Linked DNA regions of Homo sapiens: all the other regions are linked to region 1. The links are contacts of gene promoters, found by promoter capture Hi-C in blood cells and fetal thymus (Javierre and others, 2016). All regions are on one chromosome and are shown on one strand. The core of a region is centred on a gene start or on the middle of the fragment in contact, and the rest is flanking DNA. Distances in the headings are between cores, read along the strand shown.

Region 1 (3,509 bases), core at 627-3,126:
ACAGACCTCAGCCTATGAGGACAGGCCCTCAACAGGATCCCTGCTGCTGGACAGAGATCCTCTAGCCCATAAAGACTGCCCTGAATAACCATGTGTGCTCAGGGGCTCACATTTTCCCAGAAAATGTCTTTATTTTCTGAAAGCTTACTGATGCTTCTGTATTCTACCTCCCTGGATCTCCATGGCCATCCACAAACCCTCAATGATTATACTGAGAGTCACTATCATGCACTGAGCAGAGCTCTCAATGACTTCCCAGACTCTTCGGACCCTTCAATTACTAACACTCCAAATCCCAATGGCCCCACAATTACTTTCACTTCTTGTCCCAAGTATCCACTGGCCTCCCAATGACTGTCATTAATATCTACTGACACCCCCCCCCCCATGAACATCCAAGGGACCCCGACTGGCTTCCAATGAATTCCCTATCACCACCATCCTAAACAATTACCTCCCTGAGAATGCTCAAAGATGAAACTGATAAATGATGAACATGAATCTCACAGTGACCCCTGCGGACCCCACGATAAATCAAACAGCCCTAGCTGCTGATCCCCACAGAGCCACTTTGATCGCTCCATCACTTCAGCCAAGGTCAGCAAACGACAGCCTGTAGGCCACACACACACACTAGAATAATTCATGACACATGAACATTACATGAAATTCTGATTTCTTTGTCCATAAATGGTTTCTTTGGGACACAGCCACACTATATTGTCTGCTTTCATGCTGCCACAGCTGAGTTAAGCAGCTGGGGCAGCGATAGCAAAGCCAAAACCACTTCCTACCGGGACCTTTAAGAAAGTGTGCCCTTAAATACTCTGATAGCCCCTAGTGAATTAAATTGACCACCTGACATCATGCCCCTGTTGACCCTTCAGAGACTCAGGCACACATCCAGGCCCCAATGCTACCTTTCAACCCCTCAACGACCTCAAACTGGTGTCCACTGACGCCCCTTCCAGTGACACCCCTCTTAATTCTTCCGACCTCGGCGAGAAGGGGGCTAACCTAGGCCTGTCCTTGAAGAGACCCAGGTGCCAGTCCATTCTCTCCAGCCTCCCCTCGGTGATCCCGGAAGCTGGAACGGCGGCTCTCCTCTGACCTCTGCACACTTTCTGAAGATGGGAGTGTCAGGGCAGGCAAAAAAGAGAAGCTCTTCGTTCCCCAGAACCCACTTCCAGTGCCTCAGTTCTGTTTCCCAGCAGGCTTGTGCAGGTCGAGATGCTCACACAGGACTGACCCTGGTGCCCCAGCGCATCCGGGAAAAAGGAACCACAAATTCCTCGGGAAATACACAGAGAAGATCCCGCTGCCACTTGGCCTTTCCCACGGCGTGGCTGCCCCTCCCCGGCCTCCCTTGGGCCCGGCTGGAGCGCACAGCGCGGGACGCCCCCGACCCGGGGTCCTCTGGCACGAGGGGCAGCCTGATCTCGGCGACCGTCTCCACCCAAGGCTGCTGCCCGCCCCAGCTCGGACTCCGCGCGGCCTGGCTCCCAGGGGACGGGCGGGAGGGCCCGGCGAGACCGCTCGGCCGTCCACCCAGAGCCGGCACCCGGAGGTCGGCCCCTGGGCGCGGATCCCGATCTGAGGGCGGGTCCCAAGCGGCAGGGAGCGAACCTGGGACCGTGCCACCCCCCCACCAGTGGGCGCGGCAGCCGAAAAAAAGGGGAAGCGCCGGCGCTGGACTCTGCTCAGGGCAGCCCGCGAGGACCTAGGGCTCCGGCCACAGCGGCCCGAGCGCCCGGGGTGGGGCTACGCGGGCTCAGAACACGGTGGCTGGGGCGCCCTGCCCGCCGCTGCGCGCTTCCATTGGCTGCCGAGGCAAGGGCGGGGACTCAGTCACCGGCCTCCGCCTCCCGCGGCGTCCACACTCGCCGCGCGCGCGGCGGCCGGGCTGGACCTTGCTGGCCCGCGGCGCCATGAGCCGCAGCCTGGACTCGGCGCGGAGCTTCCTGGAGCGGCTGGAAGCGCGGGGCGGCCGGGAGGGGGCAGTCCTCGCCGGCGAGTTCAGCGTGAGTGGCACACGGGGTCCGCGAGCGGCGCGCCCCGGCCCTGGCCCTGCGTACGCCTGTCCTCCGCGCACGGCGGGCTCTGCCTTTCTGTCTCGGTGTCCCCGGTGTCTCCCCGCCTCGGGGGGTCTCTCCGTGTTTCTCTCCCCAGCACTTCTCTGTCGCTCTTGCTGTCTCCGTCTTCACTCTCTGCCCCCCGGCCCCGGAGCGCGACGTCCACGGCCAGGCCGGGACGGACCGTGCACACCCTCGTTCCCGGTGTCCTCGTCGCGCTCCCGGAACAACCTGGCTGCGGGCGGGACAGGTGGGGCGGGCGCCGCAGGGGAGGGCGGGCGGCCCTGCTGCGCTGGACAGCCCCGGCCCCGCCGCTTCTGGCGACCTGACTGTCCCCTGTGACCACAGGAAGGAAGGGGCTGCAGCAGGGCGAAGAGGAACACGGAGGCTGTGGCGTGGTGAGGGTGTGAACGCCGGGCTCGAATCCGCGTCCGGGCCCGAATCCGCTTCCCGTCCCGAATCCGCGTCCCGGCCATCCGCGTGTGGTCCAGGCGGTCTACCTGGCCCCTCTGACCTCGGCTTCTCCCTTGGTGAAATGGGGACATGAATGACCAAACTGGTCTAAGGATTAAATGATGTGGGTGAAAAGCACTTAGTACATATTGGGCGCACACTTCGTAGGGGCGTTCGTCACTGCCTATAAAGATTCTAAACGTGGGCCAGGTGCGGTGGCTCACACCTGTAATCCCAGCACTTTGGGAGGCCGAGGTGGGAGGATCGCTTGAGCTCAGGAGTTCGAGACCAGCCTGGGCAACACAGCGAAACCCCGTCTCTACTAAAAATACAAAAATCAACTGGGCATGGGCGCATGCCTGTAATCCCAGCTACTAGGGAGCAGAGACAGGGGACTCGCTTGAACCTGGGAGGCAGAGGTTGCAGTGAGCTGAGATGGTTCCACTGCACAGCTGAGATGGTGCCACTGCACTCCAGCCTGGGCCACAGAGTGAGATCCCATCTCAAACAAAACAAAACCAAACAAAAAATCTAAACGTTACAATACAGGTAGTGCAAGCCCAGCATTAGGAAGGCTCACGCAGAATGCTAGGCACTGTACATTACAGTTGATGACGTGTTTAAAGTGTAATCGCTTATGTACCAGACATAGAAACATACCATACAAACGCATAAACTGATATATGGTGACATGTATCAAGTTTAGAAATATGACAAATATATAAAAGTATTATAAATGACCGTTTATACAATAAACATTGCATAACTGCATAAAACAATACAACAAATGAATATAACAAAGATTATAATTTATAAAATGACCAAAGTTATTTGATAAATTCATAAGTAGATATAAAATATGTAACAGATGGCCGGGCACGGTGGCTCACGCCTATAATCCCAGCACTTTGGGAGGCCGAGGCGGGCGGATCACGAGGTCAGGAGATCCACACCATCCTGGCTAACACGGTGAAACCCCGTCTC
Region 2 (3,509 bases), core at 1-2,500, 3.0 Mb before region 1:
TAGGGAAAACTAAACTGTATCTGTCTATGTGTTTAGAATTTATCCCATTAAAGAAACTGCCCAGTTAGTCTCATTTTCTAAACGTATTTATTTTTTGCAAGACGAGAAATACAGTCTTACAAAAAGACATCTGCATATTCGAACCAAGCCTTCCTGGATTACTACCTTCATGACCTTGGACAAATGCCTTAATCTCTCTGAGCCTCAAGTTTTCACCTGCAAAATGGGGCAATTTACCCACCTCATTGAGCTGGGAAGATGAAGAGAGATAATGCATGACAACTGCCGGGCGCAGACTAAGAGCACCCTAAGTGCTACCTAAATATTCCGTAAAGAGAAAAGGGGGAAACAACCTTACATCAAAAGATTACCACACTGTGACAGTGCAAAGACAAGCACTTTTTCGCTTACTGCATGTACCATTTCTGCTTCATCCCAAGACCAGATGCAACCTTTCTTCTAAAATCTCTGCAGGGTACGTGTCTGACAGCTAACACAGCCCAGCAGCCTACTTCGCGCTGACCTGGGCTTTAGGACTGGATGCAGGGGGCCCAAGGTCCGCCCTCCCGCAGCTAGGCAATCACCCAGCGAAATCTCCGCCCCTGGAGCGGCGCTTAGGCCGCCGCCAGCCCCCCTCCCGGCGCCCAGCCCGCGGCCCCCGACACACACGCGCGCACACACACACACACACACACACAAGCGCGCGCGCACGCACACACGCACGTACCGGCTGCTCCGCAGGGACGTAGAGAGCCGCAGGCCCAAGGAGGGGCCGCCCCCGCCGAGCCCGCCCCTCCGCCCCAGCGCGGCCTGTCACCGCGGCCCCAGGTCGGGGGCTGCCGCAGGGCCCCCGGGGACCGGAGGGGCGCGCGAGGAGTCGGGCGCGGGCCTTGGGGCCAGGCCCGTCCCTCTTTCACATGAAGCCCGGGCCGGGCGGGGTGGCGGGCGCGTGAATCCTCGCAGCCGGCCGGGTCCTCCTGGCGCTCCTCGGCACTTCTAGCCGCTGCAACCCCGAGGCCCGCGGGAACTGGGCAGGAAAGGAGGAAGCCGCGGGCCCGCGTCGCTAGAGACCGGAGAAGAGGCGGGAGTGGCGACTCTGCGGACAGGGGCGCCGAGCGTCCTGGTCGTTGTTTTCGTCGCCGCCGCGGGCCGTGCAACCCCCGAACGCTGCGCCCAGCGGCCGCGGCACCCTCGTCAGGCGCCGCCGCTGAGGGCAGGCAGCCCGGCAGCCACTACACACGGACCCGTGACGTCGGGCGTAGCGCGGCGCACGTCACGGCCGCTCGCTCGTGCGCGCGCACCCCTCCGCCCGGCGGTAGCGGAACCCGCCGCGGGCGCGCGCCCGGCCCAGGGGAGTGGGTCGGCGCCTGCGCAGAGGCCCGCCACGCCCACACACAGGCCACCGCCCCCACCGGCCGGACGGCGCGGGGATTCCCAGTCCTGGCTCCGCCCCGGCCTCGGCCCCGCCCCCGCCCCTGCCCCGGGGCAGCCTGTGCTGTTCCGTGTGCGCGGCGCATACGCACCTGGGTTGTCTCGAGCCTGCGGTAGTGGCCAGATCCCAGACATCCGAGTAGATCCCGTGAAAAGGTCTCCCACGTGGGCTGTGGACAGGGCCCAAGGGTAGCAGAGCTAGCAGAGGCAGTGACGGACTGTGTGGCAGGTCATTTGCAAGGAGAAAAGCCGTCTGCCTCTTAATTTGTGGCTCAAGTTTCAGAATTTTTTTCCTGAGGGACTTTAGAAATTACTTCAGGCTTGCCACCTAACCTTAAACCACCCCCTTGGAGACTGGCTAAGTGTTATTTGTGTTTTCTGTTTAGTTCTTATCACCATCGATACTTGGTTATGACTGGTTGTGTACATTGGTTAGCCCAGCAAGTATTACTTCTCCAGCTTAACAGATGTGGAAACTTAAGCCCAGAGACATGAGTTGACACCCCACCCCCAAAGCTAGAGTCTAAAACCCTTTCTTTCGCTCCTCATCTCCCACAGGATAAAATGCAAATTAATCAGACTAGTGGTGAGGCCCTCCGTGGTGTGACTAACCTGCATCCCGACGTTTTCACCCTACTTTGATCCAGAAAGCACCTTTCCGCCCCATCTCTTCTCCTTTCCTTAAATACCCCTTACAACTTCCTGTACCATTCTTCCCTGTTCAGCTTCTTCTTGGTTTCTTCGTACATTCTGGATCCACCCCTTTCATGCATATTCCAGACCACATTTCCACTGGAGCAGTTGAAATGAGAGAGATGGGAATGGGACTCACCCGAACCAGAGGTAAGGAGCTACCCAACTTGGGCTCTGAGGGTCAAGGGAGCTGGCACTTGTGGGGCAGAGACTGAGGGAGAAACTGTTGTGTAATGTCAAAATATCTCTGGGTTTCTTCCAGGAATTTTTATTACAGACCCATTAACAGAGGTGTCAAAGTCACAGGAACAAGGATGTGCACCTCAGAAACACAGAGGTCAGTGGAAAATCAGTTTGCTTCTATTTGTTTAAAAAATGGGGGACTTATGCATAAATCTAAGACCTTCTTGAATCTAACATTCTAAGACCTGTATGCCACAGAAAGGAGGGTCTCAGAACGCCGGAGGATAGTATTTAAATCTTAAATATCTATATTGTTCTCCACAGTTACTGGGTCACCACATAGCAGGCATTCAATAAAAACGTGTTTGTTTACTAAGTAATCTAGAGATAAATTTTTTCCCCTCATAGTGCTGCTCATTTCTCCACTCCCTTCCCTCACTTACCACCCCGGGGACTTCATTCACCTCTGGGTTCCTCAGAAACATCCCGTGGGTATAGTTATAGTAGCTATTCTTTCTTTTTCGCCATTCTCCTTTTATATTGGTGACTTTTCCTCTTGCTTAGATATTAAATCTCTGACATCTTTGGTTATTTTAGTATATATGATTACAAATTAGTGATATTGGGATTTTTTTATTGATGAAACCATCATTCAATGAATATTTTTTTGCCTTCCTACTCTGTGCCTGGGATTGCAGTGATAAAATTATATAGTCCCCACTGCCCAGGAACTCAGAATCCTGTGAGGAAGGCAGACAGGTAAATGGATAATGATAACACACTGTGACCTGCATCATGGGAGGGATGTGTATCAGGCACCACAGCAGCAAGAGGAAGATGTCACAGGTGTGTCTGGGGAAGTGAGAGATGACTTCAGAGAGGAAATGTGGCATGTTCCTTTTCTGTTGCTGCATAACAAACTGCCACAAACTTAGTGACTTAAAACAGTGTCTGTTTTTTAGCTCCCAGTTATACAGATCAGAAGTTTGCACAGGGGCAAGGCTGAGTTCTCTACTCAGGGTATATTGCAAGGCTGAAATCAAGGTATCAGCTGGGCTGACTTTTTATCTAGAGGCCCTTGCAAAGATCTTCCAAGCTCATTCTTCTTTGGGGCACAATTCAGTTTCCTGTGGTTGTAGGATTGACATCCCTATTTCCTGGGCCTGCCTTCAGTTCCTAGAGGTCACCTGCATTCCTTGCCA
Region 3 (3,509 bases), core at 503-3,002, 2.9 Mb before region 1:
CTCAATACAAGACACTACTCTTGGCAGGTGAGAACATTCCGTCTGGGTTTGGATGAGAAGGGCCGTTCCACAGCAACATTTTTTGAACTCCAGTGTTACAGTGTCTATGGACACAGCTTTTAGTTCACACCTAGAGCCCTTCTCTCCCCAGGGAGCAAACTTACCTTCAAGTTGGCTGGTTTGGGACATACCTGGACAGCAGCTTGCCTCCAACCTTCTATCTTCTTGGGAAGCTGGGCTTGCTATCAGACTGGTCCTTTTCTTATGGTAGATTTTCTCTTGAGGCTCCCATTAGTCTCTGCAAGTGGGCCTCCGCCTGGGCCACTCCAGCACATTAGACCTGTCAGTAGTCAAAGCCAAGAGTGCACAAAGTTCCCAACTTTTTCCCAGGATCCCCAGGCCCAACAAAAATCAATGAATGTGATGCCTGAGGAGGATTATTGCCTAACTACGTACCAGTACTGTTGAATCCCATCTCCTACTCAGCTGGGACCCACTGAAGTTCTTCCTCAGGATATTAGCTTTATCAACATCCCAAGGTTTTCCATTTCTTATTCAAGGTGTGACTACACTGAGCAGTAACAGCAAAACCTGAAAGAGAATGGATACAGGTGTTCATTTCAGATGGTACAAGTTTAACAAAGTACAAGAGCAACTTAAGGTTTGACACAAAAACTCTAAGCATATATTTAAATCCTAGTATTTCATCCAGAAAACACCACAGCATAACTGAGAGCACTGGAGGCAGAAATAATTCAGTTTAGATCCATGGATTGCTTGCTATTTACTGTGTGACTCTGGGTAGCCACTTACTTTAAATCTATTTTTCCCACTTATAGAAAGGTAATGATGACCACTTGTTGGAAAACTTGAGGGTAATACTTGTAAAGGTCATAGTAAGACCCAACAACTTGGGCCCAACACCTGGTAGGCACAAAGTCTGTTCTGCTTCCTTTCCCTTTCTGTAGAGAAATGCACAGGATATTCCTTATATGCCACTTATGTTATGGGATTGACATAGGTTTTGTCCCTCATGCTATGGGATTGATTAGGTTTTGCTCTAAAAAGCTTTAAAAAAGAAAATTCATTACTATAAGATCAACTCGATTCCAACTTAATCTTATAGTAACTCTAAGGTATGATTATGCTGCAATTCTAGTGTATTTGATTTTTATTTCATATTGAATATCATTATATTCTCAATAAACCCTTAACAGGCTTTAACTGTCTCATAGCTTTCTCTCTGATTTCCTCGATAAAAACAAAATAGCAATAATTAAGAAAGATCAGAAAATAAAAGCCAAGGAATGAAAAGTCTGAATAAAAGCTATTGCATACTCTACATAGAAAAGATCTAGCTGATATGGTGATCAGGAAGGCACACAGGATCTGGAATCAGGAGACCTGAGCTTGAATTGACTCAGCCACTCTGTAGATGGGAGGCATCTTGGTCTCTATGGGACATTTTCCTCATCTAAGATGCAAATATCATCTCACAGAATTATAATCGGTGTCAAATGACAAGTGCTATATGTTAGTTCAGTTCAACAAGCCAAATAGAGACAATCAGACAGACCTGGTCCCTGCCCCAGGGAGCTCACAGTCTCTTTGACCTGGGCCCTACTTTTTCCCTGATCTGGTTTTTAGTAGAGGCCAGCTTGGAATTGCTGCTCATGACTACATTGATTGACTTCCAGGAGAGCCTTCGAAACACCAGTGCTCACTGACCTAACCTTCTCTGCTGGTCTTACATAGAACTGGTCTGGGGAACTCACTCAATTTCCATGCTATCTCTAGCCAAAATACTTAACTTCTTGCACAAAAATCATAAAATAAAGAATTACAAATAAATCACTCCCCCTGCAAACTCAAAGATCAGGCTCATCCCCTCTCCTGACTGTGTGGCAATATCATCCTTTGCCCAAAAGAGATCCTCTCATACTGGAGACCAAACTCCAGGTCACTTTATTGCCAGTCCTGTGTGTTTACATGCCATCATAATAAAATTTACAAAGTGTTTTCCCTAAAGCCTCGCCCACTGCTACCCAGGTCAAGTAGAACCAAAGGATATCTAGCTGTCTGTCCTTGGGACTGACACACCCTGAATCTCTCCTCTCGCATTTTTAAGCAGTTATGACACAGAAAGAACCTTTGGGCCCAGGACCCTGGGTTTTGTAAGAACCAGTCTTTGGGAGAACAGACCTAAACCCTCTTCTTCTAAAGTGAGTGGTGTTTTTACTAGTTGCTTCTTCAAACTTTGTAATTCGAGTCCTTCTTTAAAGTAACAAAAATGTTTTTAAAGTCTTCTGCTGAATCTCTTACCAAACAATAACCTTCAAGTTTTGGTGAAACCATTACTTTTATATGTTGAGCTTGCTTAAAACAAGGCACGCAAGTAATCCTGTGACATACTCCATTTTCTTCAAAAACTGATGAACAAGCTTTGCGCAGTGGCAGTATCATAGCCAATGAGGTTTACTCAAGGAGTGATTATTGCTAATTGAAAAACTGATGAACATATGAAGTGCATGTCTGTAGCTTAATAGTACAAAGTCAGCCAACTTGAGACCTTGGCTCAGGTATTTTTGCAACATTTCTAGCCCATGACTACACTGGGTAATCCTACCCCTTTGGACTTACCAAACATCTCTGTAATCCTTTAATGTACAAGTAATAGACATCTACATCACTCCAAACAACACTCTACCTGCTCCAGGGGGAGTCTTACGTCAGAGGACTTCTGCTGCTGCAATAGGGGAAGATCACAGAAAGAGACAGTATGGAGTTTGATTCAATAATTTCTGCCTGTCTGAGAGGAACAGTACACAGGCAGGTGGGGAAGACTTGGTTTATAAACAGTGGTTACCAATGCCTTCCAAAAAACTGTACAGTACTTTACTAGTAGTCTCTCTCTACCCCTGCCAGGACAATCTAAGCAGAAACTCTGCAGTTAGAAGGCAATAGAATGATATATTTAAAGTGATGAAAGAAAAACCTGTCAACCAAGATTTCTTTCTTTTTTTTGAGACAGGGTCTCACTCTGTCACCCAGGCTAGAGTGCAGTGGTGTGATTTCAGCCCACTGCAGTACTACACTACCTCCTGTAGTCAAGGGATCCTCCCACCTCAGCCTCCTGAGCAGCTGGGACTACATGCATGAGCCATCACATTCAGCTAATTTTTCTATTTTTTGTAGAGATGGAGTTTTGCCATGTTGCCCCGGCTGGTCTCGAACTCCTGAGCTCAAGTGATCAGCTTGTCTCAGGCTCCCAGAGTGCTGGGATTACAGGTGTGAGCCACCACGCCCAGCCAAGAATTCTGTATCTGGTAAAACTATCCTTCAAAATCAAGGGAGAAACTAAGATATCCCTAAATAAACAAAAGCTGAAGGAATTCATTACCACTAGACCTACCCTGCAAGAAACGTTAAAAGGAGTCCCTTCCTTCAGGTTGTAAGTAAACAACACTAGACAGTAACTCAAAGATGTATAAAAATATACATTTTTCCTT
Region 4 (3,509 bases), core at 253-2,752, 2.8 Mb before region 1:
TTAGTCATCAGGATATGCCATTAACCCTGGTCATGGGACAGAGGTCCCATGTTTATGGCCAGTGACCTAGGTTTAAATGCTAGGGCCTAAGACAGATTTATCCACTGGATTGCCCAAAGCCCTCTAGAGAGGAGGAGGTGACCTTTTCATTTTGTGCCCCTACTTTCCCCCTCTTGCTGCCTTGGACAAATCTCTGGGTAGTTTCCTCAGAGGGCTTATGGTGACAAAAGCACCACCAGAAATGAGTCCTTTCCTCCTGGGCTGAGACTGTGGATGCCTAGCTGGCCCATCAGGACTTTGGATCCAAGACCTTCCCAGTCTAGGAGCAGCTATCTTGAAGCTGCTGTTCCCGGAGGATGAAGTACTTGAGTTTGCCTGATGACACAGTCATCTCCTTGGCATGTCAGAACCAAGATCCTCCAGGAAGCACTCATCTTCCATGCACCCTCCCTCTGAGCCATATCTTCCTGCCATTGAAGGAGCCCAAGGGTCAGGGTCACCTCTTCCGGGAGGACATTCGTTCTGGTCTTTGTTGGCCTCCTCTTTCTCCCAGCCTCCAATGGCACCTGGGCCTGTGAACTATATATTGGTTCCCAACTGGGACTTTGTCCCCCAGAGACATTTGGCAATAATATCTGAAGACATTTTGATTTGTCACCACTAGGGGTGGGGACATAACCAATGGCTGCTGCTAAATGTTCTGCAGTACACAGGACAACGCCTCTCATTCCCCAACAAAGAACAATCTACTCCAAAACGCTAATAATGCCAAGACTGAGAAACCCTGAACTACAGGACAGAATGTGCCCTGTGATCTACTGTCTTGTACTGTGCACAACTGTGTTTCCAGGGAAGCATTTAAGCGTTGCTTCTCTTCCCAGATATTCCCTTGCCCCAGCATCTCAGAAACCAAGGCAACAAAATGGGCAAGGCCTTTCAAACCCTGGGCTAGGGCCAGCAAGTTGGGGAAACACCTTTTTTTTTTTTAAATCTCTGAAGATAGGATGTCTCATGCATCACTGGGGTGAGGAAGGAGGAGGTCTGGTTTGTCTGAGGGTTGGCGTGGTATAATACATCCCAATAAGCCCAGGCCATGGGGTCAGGTACACCCTAATTCAAACCGCACCTCTGCCACTTTTGGTTGTGTGGCCTAAGCAAGTTTCATAACCTCTTTGACTTTAACTTCCTTGCTATGAAATGAGGAGAAGCACCCCTCATTTGTTGAGGTTTGATGAGGGTTGAGTGAGATGGTACAAGCAAAGAGCCCAGCACAGAGAAAATCCTTATCACATGCCAGCTCTTTCTGAGACTGAGAATTCAAAAATGTTCTAAAGAGTAGTTCAGTCGCAGAGGTCTGTGCTGCCAACCTTGCTGTTTCATAGGGTTAATGGATAATTTGGCTGCTGTAGCCTAGATGGGAATATTAGGGCCACCATAAGCAAGTGACTTCAGTTAGCTCTATGATATGCTGGTAGAGCTGAAGCGAAAGGCTTGCTCTGTGTCAGTCGCTGTGATGACGCTATAATGGGCTTGGTCACTGACAGGAATGGAATGAACCATAGGTTGTCCATGGGCGCATTTCAGCTCAGCTCACAAACATGTTTTTCAAGGTTAGCTGAATATTTGCGTCTTGGGAAATGAGCACTACGCTAATTGTGGAAGTAGCACTGGGCTGGGAGACAGCCAAGCCTGGTCGCCCGTGTTACCAGGAAGAGCCTGCCCTGCCTTTCCCCAACCCATCTTCTTGATTTCCAGGGCTTGGGGTCCCTTGGCTATGGAAAGCCTGAGGCTCCAGGAGAACCATGCCTCAGGGTGTCCCCCTTTGCACCAACTCACACAGCAATCAGACCAGGTCCTTGCAATCATAGGCGCAGTTTTGACTGGGAGGGAGGACTTGGCATGCCACTTGAGAAATATTAGCAACCAAAAATTCATGCCCACTGTTCTTCCATAGTGGAAGATCTTCTTCCAGAGATCCCACTGGAATCTTCCATAATGACAAAATGCAAACAACGCTGAGAGCACAGATATGTTCATTGCAGTATTGTGTGTGACAGCAAAGGATTGGGTACCTCCCAGGGTCCATCCAGGGAGGATGGGTATACAAATGATGGGGCACTTGTGTGACATACTGTCACGCTGTTTCTAAAGACCAATGGTAAAAGTTTGGTACAGTGTCAGAAAGTTCTTGTGATATAATGTGTAACATAAAATAGAGAGAGACAGAGAATAGCAGGTCAGTATCTAAAATGTGTTTCTGTCAAATTTTGCATAAGGTGAGAACTGGATGGGAACATCTTACAGATTGTTTTGGTCCACACAGATTTTCTGTCCCAATATTTTCTTACATGAGGGCAGTAGAAAAGGTCCGAAGAGGACTCAGTCTCAGCCCCAGAGCAAGGGGTTCACCATCTCTGGGAGCTGCCAGGAGCAGCAGCGTCAGCCCTAGAGGAGCTAAATGGTATCTTTCTAAACCCGAGAAACCATGTGCAGCATGAAGCTCAAAAAGGCTGAGTGTGGACCCAGAAACCGAACCAAATTTTAGGGAGCAGGAGGCTAGTCAGAGCAAGGGCAGAACTTGGGGGGCTGTTCTAGGGGGAACAGGCGGGACAGGGGGCCGCCTGAAAGACTCGGAACATGCAGCTCCCTCCAAGTGGTCCTTCAAGGGATCTCCCAGCTTGGTTCCCTGTCTTTGGGATGGGCCATTTGGTTTTAAGATACAGAAACTCCTTCAAGCCATGTCAACAAAGAGAACATTTAATAGACGGAAACTGGGGACTCCATGGAGCCCACCCACAGGAGGCACAGGAAACCCTGAGGCATCGGGGGTCTCCTCCTGTCTCTGGAGCCACTGGGTCTCCACCTCTGCAGCTTGTCCACCTCTCCTTTTCTCTCCCACCACCGCTTGGTCTGTGTCCCCACGAAAGGTCCATGTTCAGGGTTGCCACCCTGCCTTGACCTCAGTTCTAAAAGACGATGGCTCATTCCCACATTTCTGCCTGCAGTTCCCAAGTCCCTCCAAGTCCAAGGAAAAGAAAGGAATCTGATTGGCTCTAGTTGGGCCAACTGTAAGGATGACCAGACCCCTTTTTTACCCAACACAAGGCCTGTGGCTGACCAGGTAACTACCTGCCCCTATTATCCACCCGCCTTCAAAGCCTTGCATAAATGAGCTCCCCTCGCCCTCCTGCTCACTTCCAGGGACTGCCTGGCCCCTCCAGTCTGACCCCACCCAGGGCCCACTGCGGTTGCACTTCCCTTCTAAACAGTCTGTATTTGCCTTAAGCCCAAATCCCCCTTGATCAAGTGCCAGCCCAAGCCTGCCCAATTTGTTGCCAGGTACCCTCCTGGGAACCTTGTTGTCTGATGGCCTTTGTCTCTAAGGCTTCCTGATGGCCCCAGACATGTCCCAGGTGTATGCTCCTTTCACACTCAACACAGAACACTCTCTTGACCAGGTGTCCAAGCAGTTCTCCAGCAGACTCCGTCTGGATGTCCTATAATTCAAT
Region 5 (3,509 bases), core at 270-2,769, 2.7 Mb before region 1:
TGAGACCCTGCTTTCAATTCTTTGGGGTATATATCCAGAGTGGAACTGCTGGATTGGATTGTAATTATATACACACATACACACATAACTGTATACAAATATGTGTGTATATACGTTTATATGTGTCTGTGTGTGTGTGTGTGTATATATATATATATATATTTTTTTTTTATAGTAACTTCCATACTGTTTTCCACAGCGGATATAGCATTTTACATTCCCACCAACGGTGCACAAGGCTTCTAGTTTCTCCACATCCTTGACAGCACTTGTAACTTTCTGGTGTGTTTTTGTTTTTTTGTTTTGATTGTAGCCATCCTAATGGTTTAGCCCATGCTAAGTGATCAGGCTGGTCACTATTATTATCAAGTGAGATAACAAATCAGAATATATTTTGAAAAAGAATTGCATCTGCCAGGATCCAACCAAGAAAACAGAAAGCATTAAAAGGAACTTAATGGGGGAGATTAGTTACACACAGGGGATGGAAAGGCTGAGAAGCCAAACAGCAGGAAGCCGTTAACCTTACATCCACCTAGGGCAGAGGACAAAGGACACAGGGCCACCCAGGGGAAGCCAAGGTGGTGAGGGGAGCTGTGGAGGCAGCTGGAAGAATCTGGAGGAATCTGACCTGTGAGAGGAACCACAAGCAAACACCCTCTAGGAGGCTCTGAGAAACAGCAGGGCACGTGGGTGCGGCCTGGGAACAGATCAGGATTGACCTGCGTGCGAGCCAGCTTGTCACAGTGATGTGACGATGAGTCAGGACACCTGGGCGTGGCGCTGTCCAGAGCACGAGAGTGACACCAAACACATGGGACAGCAGCACCGAGTCTTGGACAAGGGGCGCGAAGGAGTCAAGGATGTTGCCAGGCCTGTGGCCGAAACTGAGAACAGAATAGAGAAGCAGGTTGAGGGTGCTGGGTGTCAACCCTTCCTTTATCAACCCCATGGTAAATGATCAGGATGGTCACTATTACTACAAGTGAGGTAACTAATCAGAACGCAACTTTCCCCAAAAAACCCACCTGAGTTACACAGGTCTGAACTTTTTTAAAAATTAAATTTTTATTTTGAGATCACTGTTTGTGTTCAGTTGTAAGAAACAAGAGAGATTCTGTGTACCCTTTACCCATTCCTCCATGTTGCAAAACTAGCACAATATCACCGCCACGGTAGACGCAGTGAGGCCATAAGACATTTCCGTCAGCAAAAGGGTCACTTCTTGTGCCCCTTTAGAACCACACCCACCCCTGCCTTCCAACTATTAATGCTGGCAGGACTTAGCCAGACCGCAAGGGCGCCTACTCCGAACAAGGAAGAGGGTCAGGCGCTGGGAGGGCGACTGCAAGCGGACAGGCAGCACCTGCGACCACGGTACTTGGGGACACCACAAAAGTCCGCAGAGCAGGCACCGCGGCACTTCCGCGAGCGCCGCAGGCCCTGCCCCTTTCGCCGTCGCCGACCAATTGCCGCCCGAAGACCGAACCGCTTCAGCGGAGGGCCGGAAGTGAGCCGCAGCTTTTCCTTTCTGCCACCGCCTTGTCCAAGATGGCGGACCTCCACCGCCAGCTGCAGGAGTACCTGGCGCAGGGGAAAGCTGGCGGCCCGGCGGCCGCGGAGCCGCTGCTCGCCGCGGAGAAGGCGGAGGAGCCCGGGGACCGGCCGGCGGAGGAGTGGCTGGGCCGCGCGGGCTTGCGCTGGACGTGGGCGCGGAGCCCTGCGGAGTCGGCAGCGGCCGGCCTGACGTGCCTCCCGAGCGTGACGCGCGGGCAGCGGCTGGCGGCGGGCGGCGGGTGCCTGCTGCTGGCTGCACTGTGTTTCGGCCTAGCCGCGCTCTACGCACCGGTGTTGCTGCTGCGCGCGCGCAAGTTCGCGCTGCTCTGGTCACTGGGCTCGGCGCTGGCGTTGGCGGGAAGCGCGCTGCTGCGGGGCGGCGCGGCGTGCGGACGCCTGCTGCGCTGCGAAGAAGCGCCGTCCCGGCCCGCGCTGCTCTACATGGCAGCGCTGGGCGCCACGCTGTTCGCCGCGCTGGGCCTTCGCAGCACGCTGCTCACGGTGCTGGGCGCGGGCGCGCAGGTGGCCGCGCTGCTGGCCGCGCTGGTTGGGCTGCTGCCCTGGGGCGGCGGCACCGCGCTGCGCCTCGCACTGGGTCGCCTGGGCCGCGGCGCCGGCCTCGCCAAGGTGCTGCCCGTGTGAGGACCTCGCGCCCTCGCCGCTGGGGAAGTACGCGGAGCCAGCGCCGTCGGAGACCGCGCCGGCCGAGCTGAGGACTGCACGCCGCTGTGCGGAAGCCCGTGGCGAAGGCCCTGCCCTAACAGCCTGCGAGTCTAATCCGGGAGCGGCTGCTGCCAGCGGAGGCGACAGCAGCGTTGGGAGCTCCTCGATGTCAGCTTTTTGTGCTGGACTTGGCACACGCTCTGAAAACTGAGATTTTGTCATTGAACTGGTGACAGGATGTGAGACGGTTATTAGAAGTTGCTTTCGAAGTAACTGTGGTCTTAGGTTCGGCTGAGTAAAGAAAAAGGATTTTTCTTCGAGTTAGCTGCTCTTGTGATTTTTCTCAGGCTGTTTTGTCATTTTAAAATCCAGTGGTAGATGTAGCTTAGCGACGGTAGTTTTTTGTTTTGGCTATACTAAGACTTGGAAATTATTCTCTCCAGTGTCAGCGAATCCAGAAGGGTATCAGATTAAACACCGAATTCAGCCACTGGACTTTTAAAAGTACTTAAGATGGTTTATCTCGGGTTTTTTCTTCAGTTAACAAAATCATAAATATGGTGCCTTATAACATGAAAGGAAAATTAGTTGTGTATTTCACGACGAAAGCGACGGACCAAAAGAAATTTCCTGCCCCAAGAAGCATGGGATCCAGGAAGGGGCGCGTAGATGCTTAACGGTCTCTTCGGAAATCCTGCAAATAGAAAGATAATTCTAGATCCGGAATACCTGTATCTGGTGGAAACCATGGATTTCTACAAGCTCGAATTATTCCTCATTGTATAGCCTGCTTTGTAAACTAGTTTACAATTTGCAGGCTGATCTTAAGATTTTTTTATATCTAATTGCTGCTGCCTTCATTTTAGGTTCAGCAGTTACTTTTAACTACCTTAATTTATTGCCAGAAGGTATGAGCCTAACATTCTGATGAGTCCAGAAAACTACGTTTTGTCAGTAGCAATACACTAGGAAGTAAAATATATTTAGAATTTAAACATTGTGTGCCAGTGGTCCTCGCGCTTGACTGCACATCAGTTACTTGAAGAGCCACACCTCAGATCAATGCAGTCAGAACCTGGGAAGTAGGTCCCAGACATCAGGACCTTTTTAAAGCTCCCCAAGTGATTCTACGTTCCCCAAGTTTGAGGACCACTTTTCTGTGCATTGGCTTGCACAATTTGAAAGTAATGCTTTTCCTGAGCTGGATCCCAGTGTTGCCTTAACAGGGTGTCTGTCGTGCCGCAGTAGAGCACTGCTGCTTCCTCCAACCCCAAAATTTATGTTCCTAA
Region 6 (3,509 bases), core at 268-2,767, 2.5 Mb before region 1:
CAACATGTAAAGGTACCCTTCTAGATATTCTTTTAAAGACAAAATCTGCTCGATCCACCCTACCTTTAACGTCCCCATCAGAAGAACTTATAGGCTACTGAGTTTTTTTTTTTTTGGAGATGGAGGCTCGCTCTGTCACCAGGCTGGAGTGTAATGGCACGATCTTGGCTCACTGCAACCTCTGCCTCCTGGGTTCAAGTGATTCTCCTGCCTCAGCCTCCTGAGTAGCTGGGTCTACAGGCATGCACCACCATGCCCAGCTAATTTTTATATTTTTAGTAGAGACGGGGTTTCACCATGCTGGCCAGGATGGTCTCAATCTCTTGACCTTGTGATCCGCCCACCTTGGCCTCCCAAAATGCTGGGATTATAGGAGTAAGCCACCACGCCTGGCCGACTACTGAGTTCTTTAAAAAACAGTAGGGACTATGTTTACACCCTTTGCCATGTATAATATTGTTTAATGATTTGTGATCCAAAGTTCGGTACCTACTGAATTCTACAATATGGTCAGGTTGATTGGTGGTATTTTGCTACAATTGCCACTGTAGTTTAAGGGGCTAAGAAATAAAACTATTCATTGAAAAGAAGTGTTTGAAATATCAGGCGAGTAAGTGAACGATTTACCCTTTTGCTTTTCCCAGCTCCTAAACCTTTTTGGAAGTTTACCCTTGGTTCTATAGGAATTTGACAGGTATTAAGAGGCAGAAAGGCCCTCATTCTCAGCTGCAGTTGGGCTGCAAGATGACACACTTCACTTTCTTGCCCTTTAACTGGCACCACTGTGAATGATACTTGTCATTAAAATCCCATTCATCCAACTCACCTTGTTCCTTAGCAACCTCAGGTAAATATGTGGCTGTGCGTTTGACACCTTTTTCATTAATGAATTCAATTCGAATCCCATGGACCCCTACCTATAGAAAAAAGTACAACCAAGTAAATGGCATTTACTTACTCTAATGGAACTTCAGTCCCCACATATAAATCAACATTGTTCCCTGACCAGCTTAACACAGGCCTGGAAAAGGGAGACCTTCTCGCATTTCATGACTAATTCTATCTCAGGAGGTATAGAGGCCAAAGAAAGTTCTGCTTTTAGGGAAGGGTCGAGAGTATGTGCAGCCAACTCTGAGAATATGAAGGTAGGAGAAATGCATTCTTTAAGTAATTCATCCAGGAATTGTGAATATGTTCCTTGACCCTATTCCATTAAATAAACATGCCACAAGGTTTTTATCTGGGGTCATGATCCTTCACATCTGATTCCTAATAAAAACTTTTATTTGGCCAGGCGCGGTGGCTCATGCCTGTAATCCCAACAATTTGGGAGGCCAAGGCCGTCAGGAGTTTGAGACCAGGCTGGCCAACATGGTGAAACCCTGTCTCTACTAAAAAAATACAAATGGCTGGGCATGGTGGCTCACGCCTATAATCCCAGCACTTTGGGAGTCCAAGGCAGGTGGATCACGAGGTCAAGAGATTGAGACCATCCTGGCTAACACGGTGAAACCCCATCTCTACTAAAAATACAAAAATTAGCTGGGTGTGGTGGCACGCGACTGTAGTCCCAGCTACTCAGGAAGCTGAGGCAGAAGAATCACTTGAACCCAGGGGTGGAGGTTGCAGTGAGCTGAGATTGCACCACTGCACTCCAGCCTGGCGACAGAGCGAGACTCTGTCTCAAAAAAAAAAAAAATAGCTGGGCATGGTGGTGGGCACCTGTAATCCCAGCTACTTGGGACACTGAGGCAGGAGAATCCCTTGAACTCGGGAGGCAGAGGTTGCAGTAAGCCGAGATCACGTCACTGCACTCCAGCCTGGGGAACAAGAACGAAATTCCATCTCAAAAAAAAAAACAAGCAAACAAAAACTTTTACTCCAGGGCTTGCCAAGAAGGATCTGGAATATTTTCTTTTACCCCATTATCTCTTATTAGACATGGGAGAAGGATGTAAACCAAGCAGACTAGGGAGAATCAGGAGAAGCGAGCCTTTCCACTGACACTTCTGCCTACTCCTGGTATAGCAGCACCTCTTCTGTCACCTATGTTGCCCACAATTGGTTCCAAACTCAGCCTTCACATTCTTATACCCTTTCTCTCAATGAAGGAGATACATTGCCATGTACTAACCCGAACCCAAATGCAACGAGAGATGCAGAGTTCCAAATGCGGCTGTTCTCACCTCCCAGTCCAGGTAATCACTGGCATCCTCAAAGTTAGTAAGGAGGGAGACAGAGCAGAAAAGTTTAGGCAGCTCCTCTCGGGTCAGGGGGGGAAATCGGCTGTCCTTAAGTGCACTGGAGGGGGACAGAAAACATAGGTAAGGCTGCTCTGGAGTCAGGAGCCAATATCAGGTGCCATAGAGCCCACATATTTATGAATCTTGAGCTATGCAGAGAGTATCTATTGTTCATCAACACTAACATGTTAAAAACAACTCGATGCTATTAACTGTCTGTACTTGAACTGATAACTGACTCACCAGATTAAGCCCCTTACATTTCCTGATTACCAAAAAGAGAAAGCTCAACGTACATCACTTAGAAGAAATAAAGTCAGGCAGCTATTTCTGATTCTAGCCAATTTATCTACAGTTCTTAATGTCTGGTGTCATTACCTGGTTAACGTGTATTCCCTGAGTCCTGAATGAAGATTCATGGCTGAGAAGGTCCCAATGCAGCCACGAAGCCGCTTGTCCCGCCCTGTCTTCCACGTCACAAAGAGCGGACTAAAAAAAGCAAAACACAAAACATTCTCCAGCCCCAAATTAATCATGGATAAGAACAAAACCTTTTGGCTTTGTCCCTATTCATTTCTGTTATTGCCAAAAATCCCTGTTTTTGGACTTGCCAGCTACCCGAAGGACTCTCTGCCTTTCTGAAAACGGCACAGCCCCTGGCTGGAAACGGGAAACCTACAAGGCAGCATAAGGAAAGGCTCCGTGTAGTGGTTCCCATGTTCCATGCTGACAGCTTTAATTCACTTTGCCGCCAAATTTACATGCTACTTTCCTCTTTCTCTGCCCAAGACTCAACTTTTCCTTCGAATTCTCCAGTTTCCTCTTCCCTAAGTCTATTTATCCAGGTAGCCATGCTCCCCCGCTCCGTCTTTCATGATGACACGCCTCACCTGCACAGCCCCGTTCATCTGCAAACCCATGTTGCTTCCATGATCATGTCTGCCCCTGACAACTACAAATATTTCCACTCACAAATTTTCAGAAAAAAAAGTTCCCTCAAAAAACATTTTTTAATTTTTAAAAAAAGATTTAAAAAGGCCGGGTGCAGTGGCTCATGCCTGTAATCCCAGCACTTTGGGAGGCCAAGGTGGGCGGATCACTTGAGGTAAGGAGTTCTAGACCAGCCTGGTCATCATGGCGAAACCCCGCCTCTACTAGAAATATAAAAATTGGCTGGGCGTGGTGGCAGGCTCCTGTAATCTCAGCTACTCGGGAGGCTGAGGTGGGAGAATCACTTGATCCTGAAAGGCAGAGGTTGCAGTGAAC
Region 7 (3,509 bases), core at 423-2,922, 2.5 Mb before region 1:
CGCAGTGGCTCATGCCTGTAATCCCAGCACTTTGGGAGGCCGAAGCGGGCGGATCACAAGGTCAGGAGATTGAGACCATCCTGGCTAACACAGTGAAACCCCGTCTCTACCAAAAATACAAAAAATTAGCCAGGCATGGTGGCGGTTGCCTGTAGTCCCAGCTACTCGGGAGGCCGAGGCAGGAGAATGGCGTGAACCCAGGAGGTGGAGCTTGCAGTGAGCCAAGATCACGCCACTGCACCCCAGCCTGGGCAACAGAGCCAGACTCTGTCTCAAAAAAAAAAAAAAAAAAAAAAACTAGTACTACCAATGAAATAAATGCAACAGAGTTGGAGAGCTCAAGTCACGTATTCATTTATTCTACAAATACTCTCTAAATGGCTACTCTGTAACCAAGCATTTTATATTGCTTTTTTATTGAGAGAGGACATACATGTTTAGAATTCACACAGCTCAAGTATACAGCTTGACCAATTCTTACATTAGTGTCCATCCATGTAACCATCATCCAATTTAAGATGTGGAATATTTCTAGCAGCTCAGAAGGTTCTCTTGTGCCTTCTCCCCGTTCCTAATCCCCTCCAAAAGATACCCATTATTTTGACTTCTATCACTGTGGGATAGTTTTGCCTGCTCTTGAATTCACGGACATTCAAATCGACTCATCCAGTACATACTCCTTTGGGTCTGGTCTGTTTCGTTCAACATTATGTCCAGGAAATTCATCCCTTTGCTTATGTGCAACTATAGTTCATTCTTTTTCTTTGATGCACAGAATACTATGCCATTCAATACACATTGAACAATATGCCACAATTTGTTTGTCCGGCATTATTTTTAAAGCAATCTTGTTCTCTTCCCTGAATCTAGAGATTTAAGCTTTTTACAAGATCTCCTGTTGTTTTACAACCTCAGTGAGGGGATTGAGATGGAAGGTAGGAAAAATATGGTTCCTTCATGCACACTAAATGTAGCTCACTCTCAGATTTTCATGATTAAAGATGTTGGGCCAAGGCTGGGCGCGGTGGCTCACGCCTGTAATCCTAGCACTTTGGGAGGTCGAGACGGGTATATCACCTGAGGTCAGGAGTCAAGACCAGCCTGGCCAACATGGCAAAATGCCATCTCTACTAAAAATACAAAAATTAGCCAGGCATGGTGGCCCATGCCTGTAATCCCAGCTGCTTGGGAGGCTGAGGCAAGAGAATCGCTTGAACCCAGGGGGCCAAGGTTGCGGTGAGCCAAGATTGCGCCCCTTCACTCCAGCCTGGGCGAGAGAGCGAAATTCCGTCTCAAAAAAAAAAAAAAAAAGATGTTGAGCCTAGCATGGTGGCTCATGCCTGTAATCCCAGCACTTTGGGAGGTTGAGGCGGGAGGATTGCTTGAGGCCAGGAGCTTGAGACTAGCCTGGACAACATAGTGAGACACTGTCTCTATAAAAATAAGTAAATAAATAAAGATACTTGTATCTACCAGGGTCCAGTCTACAAGGAGTTATTTCAGAGATAGCAATGCACTTTGTCTAGCCTCAGGGCTATGCTACATACCCTTCTGTCCACCATAATCTTACCTGCAGAGACTTTAAGCCTCCTGACATCCCACAGAATATCACATTGATTCATTACATTGGTGCCATGTTGTTGAATGGACCCAATGAGCAGGAAGTGGTAAGTACCTTAGATTCATCTGAAAATCGTATGTGTTCCAGAAGGTTTTAAATAAACTCTAATTCTGATTCCAAGTACTGTATCAGTTAGGGTTCAGGAAAGAAAAACCACACCAGGCATTGCAAACAAAAGGAGATTTTTGGTCACATGGTTAGAAGGCTAAAAGAATGAAGCAGATGTTGAGGTAACCCAAAAATGAGCAACTGTAGGAAGGAGCTAGCACCCTTAGGGCTGAGAGAACAAAAAGGAAGAATTAGCATTACTAGCACCCGGGAGCTTGGGAGGACAGGTCACCATGGGGCTGCTGCTGAGAACTCTTAAGGGGTGCCCTTGGGCCGGTGTCAAAGAGCCTGAGAAGTGGGGAGCTGGAACTTCCTGCACTTGCTGGAGGGGTGCCATCGTTGCTGAAATCAGGAGGAGATGTCTTTTTTTTTTCTCCTTCTACCGTCTGGTCTTTCCCCAGCACCTCCCACTGGCGGAATCTAAAAGGAACTCAAGTGGTGAGAGTATCTGGGAAATGTAGTTGTAGACTCCTGCAACACATGTTGCAAGGACTCTCAATATAGTGAGTTTTAAGTTCAGAGAAGGAAACAAATGAGAACAAAAGACTGTTTTATTCTCCCTCACTTTTTTGGTAGGAGGCCTTGATGTGCAGACGCGATGGGGCAACGATGAGACCGAATAAACAATTGACATCTAACCCCAGAAGAAGAGCAAGGACCTGGGACCCAGAAGGAAGAGGCTGTGAGAGGTACAAACTGCAGGCATGGACATGATGCATATAGAGGACAGCCACACTAAGCTTTGAGGCTTCTGGAGGCAACACAGAGTAACCATTTGAATGGAAATCACTGAACAGACACAGAGAAAGAGAAACCATCCAATGACTTGAGGGTGACACCAAGTTTGCCTGGTGGCCTCAGGACTCCTGGCTCACTGGTCCCACTGTCTCCCCCCGCCCATCAGAATACATGAAGGCTGGTGGGGCACGGTGGCCCATGTCTGTAATCCCAACACTTTGGGAGGCCAAGGCGGGCAGATCACCTGAGTTCGAGACCAGCCTGGCCAACATGGTGAAACCTCGGCTCTACTAAAAATACAAAATTAGCTGAGTGTGGTGGCACATGCCTGTAATCCCAGCTACTCGGGAGGCTGAGGCAGGAGAATCACTTGAACCCAGGAGGCTGAGGTTGCAGTGAGCTGGGATCATGCCACTGCACTCCAGCCTGGCGACAGAGTGAGACTCCATCTCCAAAAAAAAAAAAAAAAAAAATACGTGAAGGCTTTCCTACCACACCATGCATGTGGGACACGTCAGAGTGGGAAGCTCCATGGATCTACAGCAAGGCTGTTCGACTAAGAGTGAATAAATGGGTGAATTCCATGGGCTGAACATGTCAGGAATATTTTCTTCTTAGGGCAGCGATCTTAACTTCTGGAGAAATTGAGTTCCTAAGCTGTAGAGCCTTAGAACCCTGGCATACATTTCTGTGGAGAAACAGAAAGCCCAGACATCCCAGTCCACACACGTCTTTCTTCTGACCAACACCAGCCATAGGAAGCAAGGCCCGGGAGAGCACTGGGGACAGGGCATGTCCGCCCGGAGCAGGGCAGGAGAGCACAGGCATGTGATGCAGCCCTGGGTCTGTCGTCCCGTTTGCGCCGGGAATGAATCGGGTTTTTCTAGCCTCTAAGCACAGAGGTATTTTTGACTCAGCACCGTGAAGAGACGACAATAGCTCAGCTTCTGCCAGCTGCCCGATTTAGACACGAGACCTTCACTACATATTTCTGTCTCTTGCCCTACTCAGAAGAAGGACTTAAAAATCCCCCAAGACGGAA

What was found. Contacts are between HindIII fragments. The CHiCAGO score rates a contact against its expected background, and 5 or more counts as called.
Region 2: the fragment with the promoter of MAP3K2 here is called in contact with the fragment with the promoter of PTPN18 in region 1 in 1 of 17 cell types (neutrophils); the score reaches 7.6 in neutrophils.
Region 3: a fragment that was not itself captured here is called in contact with the fragment with the promoter of PTPN18 in region 1 in 1 of 17 cell types (neutrophils); the score reaches 6.2 in neutrophils.
Region 4: a fragment that was not itself captured here is called in contact with the fragment with the promoter of PTPN18 in region 1 in 1 of 17 cell types (monocytes); the score reaches 5.5 in monocytes.
Region 5: a contact is called between the fragment with the promoter of SFT2D3 here and the fragment with the promoter of PTPN18 in region 1, in 1 of 17 cell types (monocytes). The highest score is 9.8, in monocytes.
Region 6: a contact is called between a fragment that was not itself captured here and the fragment with the promoter of PTPN18 in region 1, in 2 of 17 cell types (neutrophils and monocytes). The highest score is 12.3, in neutrophils.
Region 7: a contact is called between a fragment that was not itself captured here and the fragment with the promoter of PTPN18 in region 1, in 3 of 17 cell types (monocytes, neutrophils and total B cells). The highest score is 7.1, in monocytes.

What each region holds. Positions count from the first base shown.
Region 1 is chr2:130,354,180-130,357,688 of GRCh38, forward strand. It overlaps PTPN18 (protein tyrosine phosphatase non-receptor type 18), which reads left to right and starts at 1,877. Exons shown (of 15, transcript NM_014369.4): 1 at 1,877-2,021. The coding sequence starts at 1,929. RefSeq lists silencers at 1,457-2,126, 2,267-2,316. The HindIII fragment of the contact is 15,291 bases long and covers 142-3,509 here.
Region 2 is chr2:127,386,725-127,390,233 of GRCh38, forward strand. It overlaps MAP3K2 (mitogen-activated protein kinase kinase kinase 2), which reads right to left and starts at 1,251. Exons shown (of 17, transcript NM_001371910.2): 1 at 728-1,251. It overlaps MAP3K2-DT (MAP3K2 divergent transcript), which reads left to right and starts at 714. Exons shown (of 4, transcript NR_187129.1): 1 at 714-828; 2 at 2,157-2,274; 3 at 2,387-2,461. RefSeq lists a silencer at 671-1,540. The HindIII fragment of the contact is 12,520 bases long and covers 1-3,509 here.
Region 3 is chr2:127,469,795-127,473,303 of GRCh38, forward strand. It overlaps the pseudogene RNU4-48P. Among named protein-coding and RNA genes, the nearest start is that of MIR4783, 48 kb to the left of the region's middle. The HindIII fragment of the contact is 1,373 bases long and covers 1,067-2,439 here.
Region 4 is chr2:127,530,924-127,534,432 of GRCh38, forward strand. No RefSeq gene overlaps it. Among named protein-coding and RNA genes, the nearest start is that of MYO7B, 3.0 kb to the right of the region's middle. The HindIII fragment of the contact is 4,708 bases long and covers 1-3,509 here.
Region 5 is chr2:127,699,978-127,703,486 of GRCh38, forward strand. SFT2D3 (SFT2 domain containing 3) reads left to right here and starts at 1,520. Exons shown (of 1, transcript NM_032740.4): 1 at 1,520-3,509. The coding sequence starts at 1,552. The coding sequence ends at 2,199. It overlaps WDR33 (WD repeat domain 33), which reads right to left. Exons shown (of 22, transcript NM_018383.5): 22 at 1,050-3,509. RefSeq lists enhancers at 42-1,241, 236-757, 469-838, 758-1,279 and a silencer at 1,599-2,278. The HindIII fragment of the contact is 7,289 bases long and covers 1-3,509 here.
Region 6 is chr2:127,868,628-127,872,136 of GRCh38, forward strand. It overlaps AMMECR1L (AMMECR1 like), which reads right to left. Exons shown (of 8, transcript NM_001199140.2): 4 at 2,622-2,732; 5 at 2,187-2,301; 6 at 827-917. It also overlaps the pseudogene LOC107985803. Among named protein-coding and RNA genes, the nearest start is that of POLR2D, 12 kb to the left of the region's middle. The HindIII fragment of the contact is 9,720 bases long and covers 1-3,509 here.
Region 7 is chr2:127,889,911-127,893,419 of GRCh38, forward strand. It overlaps LOC107985944 (a long non-coding RNA gene), which reads left to right. Exons shown (of 2, transcript XR_001739707.2): 2 at 2,306-3,509. Among named protein-coding and RNA genes, the nearest start is that of AMMECR1L, 5.7 kb to the left of the region's middle. The HindIII fragment of the contact is 1,590 bases long and covers 878-2,467 here.